Linked DNA regions of Homo sapiens: region 1 is linked to region 2. Evidence: promoter capture Hi-C in 16 types of primary human blood cells and fetal thymus (Javierre and others, 2016). All regions are on one chromosome and are shown on one strand. Each heading gives the region's core, a stretch centred on a gene start or on the middle of the fragment in contact. The rest is flanking DNA. Distances are from core to core; before and after follow the strand shown.

Region 1 (3,736 bases), core at 695-3,194, 210 kb after region 2:
TCCTGTCCTCAAATGATCCACGCGCCTCAGCCTCCCAAAGCGTTGGGATTACAGGCGTGAGTCACCATTCCTGGCGGCTTTCTTGAGTCTCTCCAATACTTCTCACCATCTCCCTTCTTCCCTAGCAACCATCTGCCCTCGAGCCGCATTAGGCTGTCAGCCCCCTGAGTGACTTTTGTCTTTTTCTCTGCAGAGCACCAGCACAGAGCCTGTGCTGAGTGGGGCCCTATATGGTAAACCATGCAAATTAGTAGTACTCCTGCCACTCCACTCCGCTGCCGCCCAGCTAAAGGAAGCCTCCTTCAGCCTCGCTGATCTGGTCCCTGCCGGGGTGTCTGCCTATGTTTCTCCGCCTTCTCTTTGTCCAGAAGTCTCAGTCCTGCTGACCTATTTTGCAGCTTCTGGACAACCTCTGCAATGATGGGGGGTGCGAACATGGTCCTCATTTGTCAAAAGGGGAACTGGAACCTGGGGGTTTGGGGCCCCTGGCCCCAGGTTGCTCAGCTAAGAAGTAACCCAAGATTACCTGTAATCCCAGCTGCTTGGGAGGCTGAAGCAGGAGAATTGCTTGAGCCCAGGAGATGTAGGTTGCAGTGAGCTGAGATCGCGTTATTGCACTCCAGCCTGGGCGATAGAGCCAGACTCCGTTTCAAAAAAAAAAAAAAAAAAAAAAGAAGCAACCCAAGATTATCCAACCAACAATAATAATGGTATTATTAATTATATTAGTATAATTTATTGTTATTATTTTAGAGACAGGGTCTCTGTTGCCCACGCTGGAGCACAGTGGCGGTGGCACAATTATGGCTTCAGGCAACCTGCACGTCCTGGGCTTATGTGATCCTCCTGCCTCAGCCTACCAAGTAGCTGGGACTACAGGCATATGTTGCCATGCCTGGCTAACTTTTCACTTTTTTTGTGTGTGTGTGAGGGGGACGGAATCTTGCCCTGTTACCCAGGCTAGAGTGCAGTGGCGAGATCTCGGCTCACTGCAACCTCCGCCTCCCAGCTTCAAGCAATTCTCCTGCCTCAGCCTCCCTAGAAGCTGGGATTACAGGCACACACCACCACGCCCAGCTAATTTTTTAGTAGAGACGGGGTTTCACCATGTTGGCCAGGCTGGTCTCGATCTCCTGACCCTCAAGTGATCCGCCCACCTCAGCCTCCCAAAATGCTGGGGTTACAGGTGCATGCCACCATGCCTAGCCACACTCCTTTTTTAAATTTAAAAACTGAGTGAAGTCAGGAGAAAAAAATCTTAAATTGCAGCATGACAGATTCCATACTAGAATCTTGAAAAAGTCTCCAAAGCCCCATAGGAAAAAGCCACCTTGCAAAAAAGCTGAGATACAAAGATAATAAAAGATTTGGTTTCAGGATACAAACATATGCAAGAAGACTTTAAAAAATAATCAAGGCTGCCGGGCGCGGTGGCTCATGCCTGTAATCCCAGAGAGGCCGAGGTGGGCAGATCACCTGAGGTCAGGAGTTCAAGACCAGCCTGGCCAACATGGTGAAACCCCGTCTGTACTAAAAGTACAAAAATTAGCCGGGTATGGTGGTGGGTGCCTGTAATCCCAGCTACTTGGGAGGCTGAAGCAAGAGAATCACTTGAACCCGGGAGGCAGAGGCTGCAGTGAGCTGAGATTGCGCCACTGCACTCCAGCCTGGGAGACAAGAGTGAGACTCCGTCTAAATAAAATAAAATAAAATAAAAATACATAAATATAAATAAATAAATAAAAATAAACAAGGCTGGGCCGGGCGCAGTGGTTCATGCTCGTAATCCCAGCTACTTGGGGATGCTGAGACGGGAGGATTGCTTGAGCCCAGGAGTTCGAGACCATCCTGGGCAACATAATGAGACCTCCATCTCTACAATAAAAATAAAAAATTCGCCAGGTGTGGTGACTCGCACCTGTGGTCCCAGCTACTCAGGAGGCTGAAGTGGGAGGATGGCTTGAGCCCAGGAATTCGAGGTGGCAGTGAGCTGTGATCATACCACTGCACTCCAGCCTGGGTGACAGAGCAAGACCCTGTCTCAAAAATAAATAAAATAAAAAAATAAGTAACTGAGCAAAGGAATAAGGTGCAAAGAATATTCAGAGTGGTGGTAATCAGCAAGATAAAGATGGGAGCATGGGAACAAGGTCATGTCTCAGTTCTTGGTGATGAGGGAGGCTCATGGGTATGCCTTCCTTCCCTTTTATTTTTTAATTTACATATTTTTTGCAAAGCAAAGTTCTTTATTCCCGCAAATTGTGAACAATACACATAGTAGTTTCCACATATGAATGTTTCCTAAAATGATGGCTGTTTTGTTTTGTTTTCTTGAGACAGAGTCTCTTGCTCTGTCGCCCAGGCAGGAGTGCAGTGGCACAATCTCGGCTCACTGCAACCTCCGCCCCCCGCGTTCAAGCCATTCTCCTGCCTCAGCCTCCCAAGTGGCTGGGATTACAGGTGCACACCACCACGCCAGGCTAATTTTTTTGTATTTTTAGTAGAGACGGGCATGAGTCACTGCGCCCAGCCAAAATGATGGTTGTTTAACGTAACGCCATGTAATGCAGGCATGTGGTGTTTTGCGGTTATATTCACATGTGATTTTATCAGGGACCAAAGCAAAAACAAAGAGAATTCTGAAAAGAGTTTGTATCAAGGAAGATAAAATCGGCCAGGCAGAGTGGCTCATGCCTGTGATCTCAGCACTTTTGGAGGCCGAGGCGGGAGGATCCCTTGAGCCCAGGGGATCGAGACCAGCCTGGGCAACATGGTAAAACTCCATCTCTACCAAAAAATGCAAAAATTAGCCAGGAGTGATGGCATGTGCCTGGAATCCCAGCTACTCACGGGGCTGAGGTGGGAGGATCTCTTGAGCCCAGGAGTTCAAGGTTGCAGTGAGCTCTCGCCACTGTACTCCAGCCTGGGCCACAGAGTGAGACTCTGTCTCAGAAAATAAGTAAGTAAAATAAAGCTGATCATGGATAGACCGATGGTCCCAAGAATTACATTGTTTCATGAATTATATAAACCTGAGGCTCTATACAAATATTTAAAAAAGAATTTTAAAATGTGTAAAGGTTTTAAGGAGAAGCGATTAGAGGAAGCAAAGGAGAGAGTAGGGTGGGGGAGGGGAACAGCTCAGGGGTGGCTGTGGGGGTGGGGAACTGGTGGCAGCCAACAAGAAGCCCTGAGCTGGGAACGCTGTGTGACATTTGGTGGCATTTTTATCACCTTCTTGCAGCTCTCAGTGTCTTCCCCATTTTGCAAAATCTTCTGAGCAGGGTGGTGCCGATGTCCCGATAAGGATGGGGTCAGGCTTCTGGGGGGCACTGTGAGGATGGGGGTCTCAGAATCCTTCCCTTGACTTTCGATGGGTGGGGAAGGCCAGGGGAGGAAGGGGGCTTATTCAGGCTGGGTGCCCACCCGGGTCAACCCCTCCGCATGCCTCTGGGCCTCTTCTGTTGTGGGCTTGTGGGTTCCCGAGAATTAGGGCCATGGATGGCACTGACGGTCCCAGCCAGTACCAGAAAGAAACGATGGGAAAGCATTGATGAGAATCAACCCATCCCCAGGGCTCTGTCCCTCGGATGGAGGTCTCCCTTTCACTTCTTTCCAGGCATAGAAAACAGTTTGCGGCTCCTCAAAAAGTTACTTGCAGAGTGACCCTGTGATCCAGCCATTCTGCTCCTGGGTATACACCTGAGAAAACTGAAGGCAGACACTCAAACGGATA
Region 2 (3,307 bases), core at 318-2,817:
CTCAATTTTTATATTTTTAGTAGAGATGGTGTTTCACCATGTTGGCCAGGCTGGTCTCAAACTCCTGACCCCAGGTGATCTGCCCGCCTTAGCCTCCCAAAGTGCTGGGATTACAGGCATGAGCCACCACGACCGGCCACCCTTCACGTCTTTGTTTCCAGCCACTGCCTCTTGGAAGCCTGCTTTGACACCCCCAGCTCTGCCTGATTCCACAATCTTTCCCACTGTGCTGAGTTCTCTGGAGACAGTGCCTGCATCCCTCCAGTTCCCTGCTGTATCCGCGGTGCCTAATGTGGGACGTGGCCCAGAGCTGGTGCTCGGTATGCCTGTGATATTACTACATTAAAAGCAAAAACAAACACACGAACCAAAAAACCATCCTGGGCGTAGTGGCTCACATCTTCAATCCCAGCACTTTGGGAGGCTGGGCAGAAGGATCGTTTGAGCCCAGGAGTTTGAGACCAGCCTGGGCAACACAGCAAGACCCCCAACTCTACAAAAAATAAAAAATCAGTCTGGCATCCTGGGGCGCTCCTGTAGTCCCAGCTACTCGGGAGGCTGAGGCGGGAGGATCATTTGAGCCCAGGAGGTCGAGGATGCAATGAGCTGTGATTGTGCCACTACACTCAGCCTGGGCAACAGAGCAAGATCCCGTCTCAAAGCAAAACAAAGCACTTTGCAGGACAGTATTTGCAGCTCGAATCTTCCTTATTTCCTTGTGCATACCCCACAATTGCAGTGACATCAGGAAGGGGGTACAATGAACGTGTCCCTGCCCTCCCATGACTCCCCACGTCCCCCAAGACTTGGCCCGAGGCCGGGCGTGGTGACTGACTTCTGCGATCCCAGCACTTGGGGAGGCCGAGGCGGGCGGATCACTTGAGGTCAGGAGTTCAAGAGCAGCCTGGCCAACAAGGAGAAACCCCGTCTCTACTAACAATACAAAAAAGTAGCTGGGCATGGTGGTACACATCTGTAATCACAGCTACTCGCGAGGCTGAGGCAGGAGAATCGCTTGAACCCGGGAGGTGGAGGCTGCCAGTGAATCGAGACCAAGCCACTGCACTCCAGCCTGAAAGAAAAAGCGAGACTCCGTCTCAAAAGAAAAAAAAAAAAGACTCGACCCAGCTCTGCGCGTCGCATTCCTGCCCGAACCCCCACTTGTCGCCTCACTTTTGCTCCCTGGCTTTTGCTCAAGCCGTGCCCTTGGGCTGGAACGCCTCCACACTGAGGTGGGGTCATGCACGTCCTGTGGACTCCTAGTCTAGACCCAAACCCAGATACAACACCTGAGGTTAGAGCCCAGCCCTGGGGTGCCAGCCCTGGGGTGCCAGGTGTTCAGGCACCCGCGCCCCACGCCCTCTGGCTGCGCCTGCGCACTGGGCCTCACCGCGCTCCTTGCGTTCGGGGAAGCCGTAGTCTGGCGGGAAGGTTGGCATCTGCAGGGGGTCGGGCTCCACCGAGGCATCGCCCAGGTAGCGCCGGACCAGGTGGGCCCCCATGGCTGCAGTCGCTGCAGATCCCTGCAGCAGCCGAGGGTCACCTAGCTCCTACCCGGAACCACTGACCCCTCAGTCAGACACAGCTTCCGGGTCATTTAGGCAGCTGCGGAGATCATAGAGATGAAGGACTCCAGAGGATCGCTCCGGTCCGCCTGGCGTCACCTCGCGGACAGGCGGAGGCGGGACAGGTGCTGTGTCTCTTCGCAGGATATGGTTGGACCCGAGAGGGGACTTCCCTGAGCCTGGAAATCCATCTGGGCGGGGCAGAAGGGGACGGTGTGGGACTGAGGCCTCCCTCGACCCTATCTGGGGCTCTTCTGGTAGCCCGAGGCTAAAGCACATATTAAAATTATTTTTCATATCATTTTCCAAAAAGTTTTTTCTTTGAAAACATTCAAATTTCTCTTAAAAAAGGCACGATATCTATTATATCGTTAATGTATGTAATTTTGCATAAAGTCACTTTAAGAATTTTTTGTTTTTGGAGACACAGTACCTGTCGCCCAGACTGGAGTGTATTGGCGCGATCTCGGCTCACTGCAGCCTCCACCTCCTGGGCTCAAATTCTCTTGCCTCAGCCTCCTGAGTAGCTGGGATTACAGGCGCCCGCCACCACCCCCAGCTAATTTTTGTATTTTTAGTAGAGACGGGGTTTCGCCAGTTGGCCAGGCTGGTCTCGAACCCCTGACCTCAAGTGATTCCCCCGCCTCAGCCTCCCAAATTGCTGGGATTACGGGCATGAGCCACAGTGCCTGTCCAAGAAAGATTTTGATAAATTTAATTTAAATAAAAGTTATTCATAAATACAGTTATTATTATATTATTATTTTTTGAGATAGGGTCTCATTCTGTCGCCCAGGCTGGAGCACAGTGGCACAATCATAGCTCACTGCAACCTTGAACTCTTGGGCTCCAGGGATCCTCCCGCCTCAGCCTCTCAAAGTGTTGGGATTATGGGCGTAAGCCACTGTGCCTGGTCAAAAACAATTATTTAAAGCTGAAATTTCAAATAAATTATATATATATATGCAATCTTTATACAATTTTAAAATATATTAATATCTAATATTAATATCTAATATATATTTTTCCCCAGTCTGACAAAGCATGTATTAGGCATCTACTGTATGGTATGCTGGGTCCAGTGGTCAGACAGAAAGGCAGACGTGGTTCCTGTCTTTCAAGCTTACAGTCTAATGGAACAGAAAAACAGTCTAATGGAAAAAAAAAAATATGGGCCAGGGCAGTGGCTCACACCTGTAATCTCAGAGCTTTGGGAAGCTGAGATGGGAGGATCGCCTGAACTCAGGAGTTTGAGACCAGCCTGGGCAATATAGGGAGACTCTATCTCTACAAAAAAAAAAAAAAAAAAAAAAGCTGGGTGTGGTGGTGCACGCTTGTAGTCCCAGCTACTCGGGAGGCTGAGGCAGGAGGATAACTTGAGCCCAGGAGTTCCAGGCTGCAGTGAGCCGTGATCCCATCACTGCACTCCAGCCTAGGCAACAGAGTGAGACCCTGTCTATAAAAATTCCCAGGTGATGTGATGTTGCTGGTCTAGTGACCAGCTTTGGGAGAATTACTCAACTAGATCTTTATGTGTTGACATGGGGAAGTGGCTGCTGATATATTAAGTGAAAAAAGCAAGCTATTGAGAATAGACAACTGGCAATAGAGACTTTTCTTTTTCTTTCTTTTTTTTTTTTTTTTTTGAGACAGAGTTTCACTCTTGTTGCCCAGGCTGGAGTGCAGTGGTGTGATCTCGGCTCACCGCAACCTCCGCCTTCTGGTTTCAAGCGATTCTCCTG

The links. The method cuts DNA at HindIII sites, captures the fragments that hold promoters and counts their contacts. A CHiCAGO score of 5 or more calls a contact.
Region 1: a contact is called between a fragment that was not itself captured here and the fragment with the promoter of NDUFB7 in region 2, in 2 of 17 cell types (monocytes and megakaryocytes). The highest score is 7.2, in monocytes.

The regions. Positions count from the first base shown.
Region 1 is chr19:14,780,576-14,784,311 of GRCh38, forward strand. No RefSeq gene overlaps it. Among named protein-coding and RNA genes, the nearest start is that of ADGRE2, 3.9 kb to the left of the region's middle. The HindIII fragment of the contact is 8,011 bases long and covers 1-3,736 here.
Region 2 is chr19:14,570,499-14,573,805 of GRCh38, forward strand. NDUFB7 (NADH:ubiquinone oxidoreductase subunit B7) reads right to left here and starts at 1,568. Exons shown (of 3, transcript NM_004146.6): 1 at 1,391-1,568. The coding sequence starts at 1,502. RefSeq lists an enhancer at 1,500-1,789. The HindIII fragment of the contact is 3,352 bases long and covers 1-2,685 here.